Linked DNA regions of Homo sapiens: all the other regions are linked to region 2. Evidence: promoter capture Hi-C in 16 types of primary human blood cells and fetal thymus (Javierre and others, 2016). All regions are on one chromosome and are shown on one strand. The core of a region is centred on a gene start or on the middle of the fragment in contact, and the rest is flanking DNA. Distances in the headings are between cores, read along the strand shown. Region 1 overlaps BSN (bassoon presynaptic cytomatrix protein). Region 2 holds the start of CAMKV (CaM kinase like vesicle associated). Region 3 overlaps BSN (bassoon presynaptic cytomatrix protein).

Region 1 (3,939 bases), core at 1,440-3,939, 250 kb after region 2:
GAGAATGACCCCACAGGGTTATAGAAGTTCCCATGAGGAGGAGCACTCAACAATGCCCCATGCCATGATGAGTCTACGTATGTGAAAGCCGAGAAGTCACAGGAAGAAAGGCTACACCTATGAGTGCCACACACCATAAATGCCCAAGCCCTGTCCCAAACCAGTCCAGCTTGGGAGGGGCCAGTTCCTTCTCCAGCTGAACACAAGGGCCCACCGTGGCAGGAGCTCCAGGGGTCATAACTGTCTGTACCACACACCTGAACACACATTCCATGAGAGCCACAGTGACTACACCCGTCCAAGGCCTCCTCAGGAGGGAAGAGGTAAGCCCTCCAGGAGGCTCTTCTTAAGAGACACAAACAAAGGTCTCCGCCAAAATATGGCCGCTGGGCAGGAGAAAGAAGGGAATGAGGAAAAAGAGAGGGAGGTGTCCACAGGCAGGACCCAGCCCACCCCAAGGAAGACTTGGTCTTGTGGATGTGGCCTCATCAGCAGAGAGGCCCCTTGAGGCCACTGCTCCTCCCAGCAGCCATGGGAGTCCTATTGCTGGGGAGGGCCAGGGTAAGGGTGTGTAAGCAAGGAGGGGAGAGGGGTGCCGCCATAAAGGAGACACAAGAGACAGGAAGGGCAGAGAGATGAAGGAGTGGCTAGAAGTCAAACAGGGAAGACTAGAAATGCCTTATCTAGGGACAAATTATAAAATTATATATATATATATATATATATATATATATATATAATGTATTTTATTTTTTATTTTACTTTAAGTTCTGGGACACATGTGCAGAACGTGCAGGTTTGTTACATAGGTATACATGTGCCATGGTGGTTTGCTACACCTATTAACCCGTCATCTAGGTTTTAAGCCCCACATGCATTAGATATTGGGACAAATATATTTTTAAGATGGCCAAGAAAGGTAAACAATGTACAAACAGCCAGATTTCTACCAGCTTTTCTTCCTTTCAGCATTTAAGGCTATTAGCTGATCAGAAACAATCTTAACTCAGAGCTGTTTGCCAAGGCAGGAAGGAGCCCCCTGGCCACAGGAGGGCTGCTGGGAACGGGAACAGAGAAAATTCAGTTAGCCTCTCCCCCACCAATCCTTAGTACCCTGTGGCCTCCTGTCCCATCCCAGGACCACTGCTGGGAGACATAATCCTGATTGCACTGGTGAGAGGCTGGGCTCCCCTCTGTCAGAAGCCCCCAGAAAGGCACGAGGCCAGCGTCAGTGACTAAAAAATGCTTCAGACACCAGTGACGTCCATAATGGCAGAACCACCAGGAGAGATGTGGCTGCCCTGGTGCACAGTGGGAAGGAGGGCCTGACCAGGCTGATTCAGACCAGACGGAAAAGCAGCCAGGCATGGAGCCAGTGCAGGCGCCAGAGGGAAAACCAAGCTGGGCCCCACAAGGCAGCATTCCAGAGCATGCCCCCCACCGCCTTCAGTTGAGGATTTGAAAGAAATGTTTTCCATTAATAAATGGCTGTCTTTGCTCACCAGGAGGGGAGTGAACTTAAAGAAACTGTTTCTCTAAGTCAGAGTGGCCAGAAGAGCCCCACAGCTTCAAAAGAGGTTTTGATGAATTCATGGCTGACCTTTCTGTAATGGGCAATTAGGGATGGGCAGATGCTGTGGGAGGACCCTCTCCTTTGAGTCCCAGGGCAGGAAGGACTACTGGGCCACGCCAGTGGTTCCTGTGCACCCAGGCAGCAAAGCAGAGGCTGTAGAGCAGTGGGTGCTGGGGCCAGGTCCAGTGTCCTAGAGCTTCTCTCTCAGGAATGGATATGAGAATCTAGAAAGTTTAGGCTTAGAAAAAAATTCCAGTTTTTGCACAAGAAAACATATCCTGGCCTGCCCAGCCTTCAAGCCAGTGGCCTCCTGCCTTTTTAATCATGTGCCTCTATCAATACAACATGTTTCAGCATCTCCAACATATGAATATTCATCTACCAATTATATAAATGCATATTTTTTATAAAACCCACCTCCCCAAGTGGAAAAGTTTTAAAAGATGAGATAGACAATAAATATAAACAGAAATTTCCATATGTTCTGCCTTGTCCCTCCCGTATTCCTCAACCCCTTGGCATATGTGTCCTAGTTGAGGCCACTGCTAAGAAAATTCTTACACTCTTAATCGCCAGTCCTTAAAATAGTCTCTGTTGGTTTCCCAGACCAGATTCAGTCCTACCCTCCACCAGGCTCCATGGAAAGTGTACTTAGGTCAGTGACAGGGAGGCCCCCAGCCATCAAGGGCTGGCCTCATCAGCTTCCTGATTGTCCTAGGGGCCAAAAAGAATTTGCAGTGCTGACGGCAATAGCACAAAGGTAAGGATCTCCATAAAACGCAGCCACAGCCACAGAAAGAGCCTGTGATTGCCCAAGAAGATGGCATCATGGGCTCAAAGCCTCTAAGGTGCTGTCTGCTGGCTGGAGAGGGAAGGTACCACACCCAGGGTTCCTGGGCAGGGTGAGAGGTCATGCCATAGGCAGAGCTCCCTTGAGGCCGACATCTTCTCTTCCTAACTTCCCAGCCCCTTTATGTTGTAGTCCCACTCTGATGGTAAGTTTCCAAGACTCAAAAGACCCCAGAGTAACCCAGAGAGCTAGGTCCTTGGTAGAGCTGGGGACAAAGCACCATGGTGGCCATGCATCAGTATACACCAGTGACGCCAGGTGTATACTGATGCACTTGGGCAGACATGCACTCAACACCCCTGAGCAGACAAACCCACATGAAGGAACCATCAGTGTTACCAGGTACCTGCCACCTCCACTCATCCTTTCCACTCAGAAATGTCTGGCAGGTGGGACTCTTCCTGTGGCCAAATAACAAGGCTCAATTTGTTCCAGGCCAGCCTGTTTGGGCCAGAAGAGAACATGTTTAAGGCAGTGAGCTCTGACTGCTCTGATGTTGCTGAGAGAAAGAGTCCAGCATGAGACTGCAGGTGGGTCAGCAAGGGGAGAATGTGACAAGAGGGACTGGTAGGAACAAGACTTGCTGCCATTAAACATAGGCTAGAAGAAGCTGCCAGCATCAGACGGGGAGACCACCAGGAGTCTGAAAGCAAGGGGAATCCAGGCCACAAATGCCACAAAAGTAAACCTTGGGGACCTCATTCCCCAGCCCTGGGGCCTGAGTGGGTCTACTAGATTGAGAACATCTTTCAGGGAAAATTGATTTGCTTTTGGTTTCCTCTGGGACCAGCTAGTCTCCAGAATCCAGAGCAAGGATAGGAAATAAGGGTAACATAAGGGTAACTTTCCTTTAACCCCAATAAATTGGTAGTGACCGCCTGGGAAGTGGGCTTGGGAAGGATTCATGGGAAAGATTGTCACCATCAATTAAGCACAAAGGCCATGGACTTGTCATCCATGATGTAGAACAAAACCAAACCCTTAGACCTGCCTCAAGTGACATCCATATTCTTGTAGTGTCTCACTAAGAATTGCACCAGGCCCACCTCAGGCCAAATTCTAGAAAGAGACCAGTAGGTATACAGTAGTGGTTCATGTGGCGTTTACCTTTGATCTTCCCCTCAGTCCCATTTTTACCTCTATCCCATGGCTTTTCCAGAATAGCAAGAGCTATATGTGGCCACCAGTCAGCTGACGTGTCAAATGCCATGAGTTCAGTATAACTTTAAAGACTGAATGTCGGCCGGGCGCGGTGGCTCACGCCTGTAATCCCAGCACTTTGGTAGGCCAAGGCGGGTGGATCACGAGGTCAGGAGATCAAGACCATCCTGGCTAACACGGTGAAACCCTGTCTCTACTAAAAATACAAAAAATTAGCTGGGCGTGGTGGCGGGCATCTGTAGTCCCAGCTACTTGGGAGGCTGAGACAGGAGAATGGCATGAACCTGGGAGGCAGAGCTTGCAGTGAGCCGAGATCAAGCCACTGCACTCTGGCCTGGGCGACAGAGCGAGACTC
Region 2 (3,975 bases), core at 717-3,216:
CAGGCAGGAAGGGGACTGATAACTCCAGGGACCAGCTACAGCGTCCACACACACGTGCCAGCAAGCATGCCTGGGTGCACAAAGAATGCAGACACACGTGCCCCTGGGCACCACTGCATACACTGTGCTGTTGCATCTCCCTCGGCAAAAGAGAGCATACACAACACGTACACGTGTGCACACACACCCTGCCACGTGCTCTCACCCACATGCACAGAGCGTGCTTAGGACCAAGAAGAGGTGGAGTACTGCCAGCAGCAGGCAGGGCGCTAAGGAGCCACCCCTTCCCCTGCCTAAAAATCCCCATTCCAGCTTCTCATTGACCCCCATGCCTGGATAGCCATGACCCTCAGGAAAGACAGAAAACATGTATGTGGCATGTGTGGGGTCAGCAAGCTACAGCTTGGCTACACCATAAAACTCAGAGACCCATTGTTTCAAGAATAGTGGGCAGATGGCAGGAAGGACTCAGTGCCAGGCCATTCATTCATTCTGCAGACATCAGCCGAGCATACTGAGATGAGAAACGGGTTCTGCCTTGCAGATACCCAGCCTGCCAGGAGATTCCTACCCAGTGGTGGGGTGGGTCCCATAACCCGAGACCACTCAGAGCCCAGGGACCCCAGAAGTGGCACCAGCCTGGCCTAGAGGAGGTAACACCAAGCCAGGGAGGAAGGTGAAGGGCTCAGTACCCCCTCTGGAGGAAAATTTTGAGGAACCTTGTTTGAGGCGGTCATTTCCTAAGCTAGCCTTCAGTCTGAGCCCCAGCCCCAGCTTCTGGACTTGGACAGTCCCTCCTGTCATCAGCCATGGGTGGCCAGGGCAGCCTCAAGATGGCTGAGGGTTTGGGGATGACCCCAACTCCCTCTCCCACAGCAGGGTCAGGAGGCTCACTGGGAGGAGTGAGGTGGGATAAAACCCAGCTCCAGACACTGAGAGGCCTGAGTCTGGTCTTCAGATACTGGCCTTAGGATGGTCCTCAGGGCTTGTGAGGGGTGTGGGTCAGGCTTTGGGTCCGTGAGCCTCACTGACAAGGGACAGAGAAATGGCCAAGGACTTCCTTTAAAGCTTCCTCCTGGTGGTTCTGAGCCTCCTCCCTCTGATTAGCACCCAGGCCAGGTGGGATACCTTGGTGCCACAGTTCTCCTGTGTCCCCATATCCCAGGCCAGGCCACTAGAGTGATACAACTCATGAAGTGTTTGACAGTGATTAGACTGAAAAGAAAGCAGAGGCCACACCATGTCACAGGTGACTTTTATAGTTTGGGAAATTTGGTGCCACACAGGAAGGGGCTGACTGTGCTGCCACCCTTGCTGGTACTTATGTTTGGGAAAGACTCTGGCCTTGCAGGAGTTGGGGATGGGGTGGGATAGGAGACTTTGCTACTACAGTCTAGGGCCCTCACTGTTTTCACACTGACTACCTGCAAACACACACCTCTGTGTGTTTACTGCTCCTAGCTAGGGGATGCGTAGCTAGGGGATGCTAGGGGATGCCACACTGACTACCTGCAAACACACACCTCTGTGTGTTTACTGCTCCTAGCTAGGGGAGCCTGCCCTAGCCCGACTGCCCATCTGGTTTTTCTAAGTTGGTCCTGCCTTTTGGGTCGGGTTCGGGGAGCTGGGCAAAGCCCCGTTCCCTAGAGACTAATGACTGGCAAGCGATCCTATGCAGCTCCAGGACTCAGGCTTTCCCCCAACTCTCCACTCACCACCCCTTACATTGGGCATAGGAGGCCTCCTCCGGCCCCAGGCTGAGGGCCTAAGGGAGCCATTGAGAACCTTGGCCAGGGCTAAGCAGGCCAGTGCTCACCAGCACCGCTGCCATCCCGCGCGCTCCTGCTCTCCAGTGGGATTCTGCCCTTAAGGCTCCGCCAGGGTCGGGGCGGGGCCGGTTGGGAGGCCCCGCCCCCAGCCCGCCCCCGGCCCGGGGTGCGAATCCGGTGCCGGCAAGCGGCTGGCGATGCTGGAGGTTCGCTAGCCGAAGCGGCTGCATCTGGCGCCGCGTCTGCCCCGCGTGCTCGGAGCGGATTCTGCCCGCCGTCCCCGGAGCCCTCGGCGCCCCGCTGAGCCCGCGATCACTTCCTCCCTGTGACCAACCGGCGCTGCAGGTGCGGGGCGGGCCGGGCTGGGGGCGCTTCCCGAACGCAGGTTGTGGGGCCTTGGGGGATTGTTTCCCTGGCTCGAGGTGCGGGATGCAGAGTGCGCGGGGGCGCAGCGAGGGCTCGAGGTCCTGGCGGGGTCAGAGCGCGCGGGCTTTGCAGATTTGGGGGAGGGAGTGCGGGGTCGGGCTAAAGTTCCCCATTACCTCGGACGGCTTGGGGGTTCTGGGGGGAAGCTTCTGCGGCTCGGAATTGTGAAAAGATTAACCCTCGAAGATTCGTGGTCCCCCGTGAGGATAGGGGCCGAGAGCTGAGCCGTCCCTCCCCGTTCCCAGAGCCGCCTCCAGCCCCTCCCAACTGTCCCCGGGCCCCTTCCCTCCCGCTTAGCAGTCACTAATTTCCATGACAACGGAGAGTTCTTTATGGGCGACAACCCGGAGGGGGCTGGGCGGGGCTGCCGCGGGGTGGGGGAGGAAGCTCCAAGCCCCTGGGGACCAGCAGCCCCCCAGCCAAAATTCAGCTTCCAAGCCTTCACCTGGGTGCCAGCTGGGGGTCCAGTGCATGGACCCACGTGCACGGTGGGGGTGGGGGCGCACATGTTCCTGCTGGGAGGTGCGGGGCTTGGTGCTCACACGTGTGCTTTCCGCATGTGTGTTGCTGTGCCAGCGGGGGCGAGCCAGCAGCACTTGGGAAAGGGGTCAGGGTGGCAGCACGGTGGGGAGCAGGGCCCCTGGCTGGAGGTGGCTGGGATAGTGACAGCATGAGCTTCTGCCTTCCCCAGCTTGTACTGTTTGGCAGAGACCCTGGGCTCTTGAGCCCCAGCCCCCTCCCCGCATAGCTCTGCCAAATTGCTTTTGTCCGCACCTCCCAGGCAGATCCTGCTCCACCAGGTTCCTTCCTAAGGATCAGGGCCCTCTGTCCCACACTAAAAGCTCAGAGTCTGCAGTAGTCCAGTCCCTGTGCTGTACTCCCCTTACCCCCAAGTCCAGGCTTTGAGCCCCCAGGACTACCTTTAGAGACCTGGTGCCCTCCCCCACCCTCAGAGTTGATTCCTGGCAGCTCCAGCGACTTCTGAGCCTCAGTTTCCTCAACTGGGGAACTGGTGTCTCCACTCAGAGTCAGGTTGGTTTCCAGGGTGGGGCAAGGGTCTCCCTTTTCTAATATTTGGTGTGGACCCTTCAGGTGCTCTCCTAGGCTGGCTGTTCACATATCTCTGATGGCCCTACTCTCCAGCCCCATGCCCTGGCCACCATTCACAGGCAGGCAAGCAGTCCTCTGCCCTGGGAGAAGGCCAGATTCCATGGTTTCCATTAGGGGAAACTGAGGCATGGGGAGGTGAAGGGCTGTGTGGTTATCCTGTTTCTGGGTTGCTTGTGGTGCCGTTTCTGGCACTCATGGCAGGATCTGCTGTTGGGGGTTGGTGAGAGGGGATTAAGCAGAGCTGTAAGAGGGGCTCTGGGGACCCAAAGCCTGGAAAGGATAGCAGATGGGGGAGGGGTTGGCTGGGAGGGTCTAAGTACAGCTGGGCCAACTGAGAAGAGGGACTATAAAGGGAAGCAGCCAGGCATCCGAGCCTCATTTCCATACCCCTATGCGTCTGCCTTCAACATGTTGGACCTGCTTTACCTAAGCTGCCGTGATGGCAGAGAGACGGGCTGGGAACTGTCCTGACTGGGGGGCTGCAGCAGCTGGCCTCTTCCCCACCAACATGCTCCAAGGAGCTGGCCTCCTTTTGGCTGTGCCTCCTACACCAAGTTCAGTGTATGTTTGGGGGATACAGGAGGGTGCAGTCTCGAAGGTCCCAGTACCATGGATAGCTCCTGGCCCAGGGATTTAGAGCACATCGCCATGGAGGCCTTAGGGCTCTGCT
Region 3 (3,875 bases), core at 1,278-3,777, 210 kb after region 2:
CGTGGCTGCAACACAGAACCTATAGCTAAGATTCTGCCCATGCCCAGCCTGGAACCAAGGGGATGTCCAAGCTTCATTCATAGCATCTTCCCTGGTTACAACCCATGCATGGGAGCTCTGCTTACCGGTCCTGCTGGTTGAGGACCTGTGGCTGTGCTGGGGCCTGGCTGAGGCTTCCCTGCAGGCTGGCTGGCAGCAGGGGCTGAGCCCCGGGTGGTTGGCTGGCTCTGTTGCTGCAGCCGAGCCTGTGTCAGAGCCTGCTGTGGGGGCTGCAGCCCAAGACCTTGCTGCTGCTGCTGTGTCTGTGGCTGGCGTGATGCTGCCCCAGAGGGTATTTGCCTGGATGATGGTGACTGTGACTGCTGTGGTCCTGGAGCTGCCTGCCGACCTTGCAGCTGCGGCTGCGCCTGGGGTTCTGCCTTTGACTGCAGTGCAGCGGGCCCGGAGTGGGCTTGCCGGGAGCCCTTCTTGCTGTCAGAGGCATGATGGTATGCGGATGAAGCACGGGATGGCTGTGAGTACTCAGCAGAGCTGGGATACCCAGGCTGACCCTTCTTCGGCATAGCTGGAGCAGAGCTGGGCTGAGAGTGGGGCCGGGCCTCATGGCGACCCAGGTCCCGAGCGTGTGGTTTGGCAGCACGCCGTCCCGGCTCCTCACCAGTGTGGCGGCCTGAGTGCCGCCCGTGGTCACCGTGCCGGTGTTCCTTGGCTGAGGCATGGCGGCCTGGGCCACCCTCATCATGAGGCCACAGGCCCTCCTCAGGGGGTTCATCGTAGTCATGGTAGCTGTGCCTGGCAGGGCCTCGCTTCTGGGAGGAGGAGGAAACTGCATGGCCCCCGTGGTGCCTGAACCGGTCAGAGCGGGCATCCCGGGGCTTATCAAACCAGTCCGTCTCCTCCTGGCCCAGGTGATACGCTTCAGAGACCAAAAACAGAATACCATCAACCCCCGGGCTAGCCGCAGGGGGAGGCCTAGCTGAAGCCATGCAAAGAAACCAAGAGAGTGGGTGCCACAGCCACAAGCAGATCAGCAGGCCCCCAGCCCACCCTCCCGCAACCACGGACCAGGGCACAGATGGAGCAGGCAAGGGCAGCCTGCCTGCAGCAGGGCCCACCAGATGAGGCGCCAGACCAGACCCTGCTGGGACATCTTAGGGCCCAGGGCCCCACAGGTAGGCAGGCCCCCCAGCTGCTGAGTATCCGCAGAAATCACCCCTGGCTGCCATTACCTTCGCTGTCGGAAACCACGCAATGGGAATCATCCAGGATGTAGCCCTCCTCACGCTTATATGCGTGGGCCCGAGGTCCGTCCTTGACATGTTCCTGGACATCAGGCATGGAGTGGCTGGAGCAGAACTGTGGGCAGGTATCCCCGCCGGGAGGGAGGGGCCCTCCGGCAGGGCGGGGCCTCCCCAAAGGACTGACGGGGCTCTCCTCTTCAGAGGCCTGGCTCCGCATGGGGGGTCGTACCCGGCTGTGGGCCATACTTAGGGATGAGGGCTTGGGGCCCGCTTTTTGAAGTCGCTCCACAGCCTCCCGTTCCCTTTCGTACCCCTTGCCCCAGCCACTGAAGTCGTGGCTGGACAGCTTCTCCCCACTGTATGCAGAAGGTGCCCGGGACCGGCTGCTCCCGCCATAAATGCGGTCGTCCTCCACTGCGTCCCGGCTGGACATCCCATAGTATTTTTGCTGCTCATACACGTTCTTCTTGAGCCCATAGGTGATTTCATCCTGGAACTTCCTGCCCCGAGAGACCAGGCTGCTGCTGACTGCAGGTGGGGGGTAGGACGCCAGGTCTGACTCTACGTCTTTGGCCTCTTCAATAGGCGAGAACTTGGATATCTTTTGCTCCATGCCCTGCTTCCGGTGCTTGCTGCGCTTTGAGGAGATGGCAGCTGGAGCCAGGCTCTTGGAGGGATGCTTGGGCCCCATGGGCCCTGGACCATACTTCTCTACTCGAGCCCCATGCCTGTAGTCACTGTCACCATAGTAGTGGGTACTGGCTGGTCGACCATTGCTCTCCATGCTCCGGAGGTGGCCACCCTTCCCGCGGGGATCGTATGAGTCCTCCTCAGATTCCTCTTCTCCTCTGGCATAGCAGCAGGGCAGTGTGGGCCCGTCAAGGACACCTGGTTCTCCAGGCTCCTTCCCTGGACGCCCACTGCTGCCTGGCCCCAGGGGCTCCAGCCGTTGGCTATCAGGAGCAGTAGAGGTGCTGTCCTTGGTCAGTTCACTGATGTCATCAATCATTACGTAGTTTCGAGGAACGTTCTGCTCCAGACTGGTATAGTGTGAGTCAGAGGGGTAGGTGGGGGCTGGGCTCTGGCTCACACTGCCACGGTCACCAGCCCGGGGCACCTCAGGGACCTTGCCCTGCTCATAGCCGCTGCTCACTGCTGGGCCACTGTAGCTGGTTTCAGATGGGGCTGAAGACATGGGCACAACGGGGCTGGCGATCACCTCATAGTTGGTGGGCACCTTCTGCTCCAAGTCGGCTAGCGATGTCTGGCGTGGCTTCTGCAGTGGGGCACGGCTATCAGCGGGGACTGGAAAAAGGGTGCTCTGTGTGGTTGGCATGGGTGTTTGGCCTGCATAGTGGCCTGTGGGGCGGAAAGCCTGCTGGTTTGGCAGGCCAGGCTCAGCTGGGTAACTGGCACCAGGAGGAAAGGCAGGAGCTGGGTACGTGCTGGGGCCAGGGTAGGTGGGGGCCTGGTGGGCTGGGAATCCGTTCTGAGTTGGCCCACCACTGCCTGCAGAATACTGTGGGGCTGGAGGCTGGAAGCGGGGCTGCTGGAAGGCAGTGGGACCAGAGGGGGTGGCAGGAGCAGCGGCAGTGGCAGGGAAGTCCACAAACTGGCCAGCGGGAGTGGTGCAGCCCTGGAGCCGCAGCTGGTTGAGCTCACTGTCCGATAGGTAGTCACGATGCTCGCCAAGACCACGCAAGGGTGGGTAGTCACGGCCACCCCGGTCTTTGGCCAAAGACTCTTTGCGTTGTGTGATACCCAACTCCAGGTACTTGAGCTTGGCGTCAATCTCCTTCTCCTCCTCATCCAGCTCTGCCTGCTTCTTGCGCAGTTTGGTGGACTCATGCTCCACCAGCCGCAGGTCCCGGTCCAGCTCCCGGAGCAGGCTGGCCTTGGTAGCAGGGACAGTGGTGGGCCCCGTCAGCCCTCGCTGCAGCAGGCTGGCTGCATACAGCTGTGGGGAGGCCTGGCCAGCCAGGGGAAGGTGAGCCTCCTCTGGAGGGGGGCTGGGCAGTGTCCGCTTCACCTTGCGGACCAGGCTGTTGGGTGGCAACGCCGACACCTGAGACAGAGGGAAGGGTGGGCAGCACTGAGACCCAAGGTGTGGTGACTTGATGGGGTGTGGGGTGGCAGAACCCAGGCCTGGGCTGGGGAAGGAGCTGGGTTCCATCTTGCTGGTGCCCTGATTTACCAGGCAGCCTGGAGGCCTACCCTGCCCACCCATAGGCCTTGGTTTCTTTGCCATAGAGGGAAGATCTGTGATTATTTTACAGCCCTTCTCTTTCCCAGAGCTTTGGGAAGCAGGAGGGTACGGGCAGATTCCCTTCATGCCAATGTCCTGTACTGGCCCAGCACATGGCTTTGAGAACCCCTGCACATCTCCAATGGGCCTGCCACCCTCTGCCTCACATTGAGGTAAGAAGAGTACAGCTGTGGCTCTGGGTTTGGGGCCTAGCAGCTGACAGGGGTTGAGATCAGTGGAGTATGAACAGGAGGCATGGAGTGGAGAGGGTCCTGGGCCCGCCAGGCTCCCTAGAGGATCATGGGAAGGGACACATGTAGATTGTATGCCAATCGTGGCAGGCTCTGAGTCATTCTGCATCCTGCCCTAGTCCTCTCTAAAGTGGAAGG

Evidence for each region. Contacts are between HindIII fragments. The CHiCAGO score rates a contact against its expected background, and 5 or more counts as called.
Region 1: a fragment that was not itself captured here is called in contact with the fragment with the promoter of CAMKV in region 2 in 1 of 17 cell types (M1 macrophages); the score reaches 6.6 in M1 macrophages.
Region 3: a contact is called between a fragment that was not itself captured here and the fragment with the promoter of CAMKV in region 2, in 1 of 17 cell types (endothelial precursors). The highest score is 5.4, in endothelial precursors.

Annotation. Positions count from the first base shown.
Region 1 is chr3:49,614,084-49,618,022 of GRCh38, reverse strand. All of the region lies in intron 1 of BSN (bassoon presynaptic cytomatrix protein), which reads right to left. Among named protein-coding and RNA genes, the nearest start is that of APEH, 58 kb to the left of the region's middle. The HindIII fragment of the contact is 5,524 bases long and covers 1-3,939 here.
Region 2 is chr3:49,867,897-49,871,871 of GRCh38, reverse strand. It overlaps CAMKV (CaM kinase like vesicle associated), which reads left to right and starts at 1,966. Exons shown (of 11, transcript NM_024046.5): 1 at 1,966-2,114. RefSeq lists enhancers at 2,282-3,213, 3,214-3,975. The HindIII fragment of the contact is 1,273 bases long and covers 1,071-2,343 here.
Region 3 is chr3:49,659,917-49,663,791 of GRCh38, reverse strand. It overlaps BSN (bassoon presynaptic cytomatrix protein), which reads right to left. Exons shown (of 12, transcript NM_003458.4): 6 at 1,230-3,306; 7 at 126-916; 8 at 1-5. Among named protein-coding and RNA genes, the nearest start is that of APEH, 12 kb to the left of the region's middle. The HindIII fragment of the contact is 4,908 bases long and covers 74-3,875 here.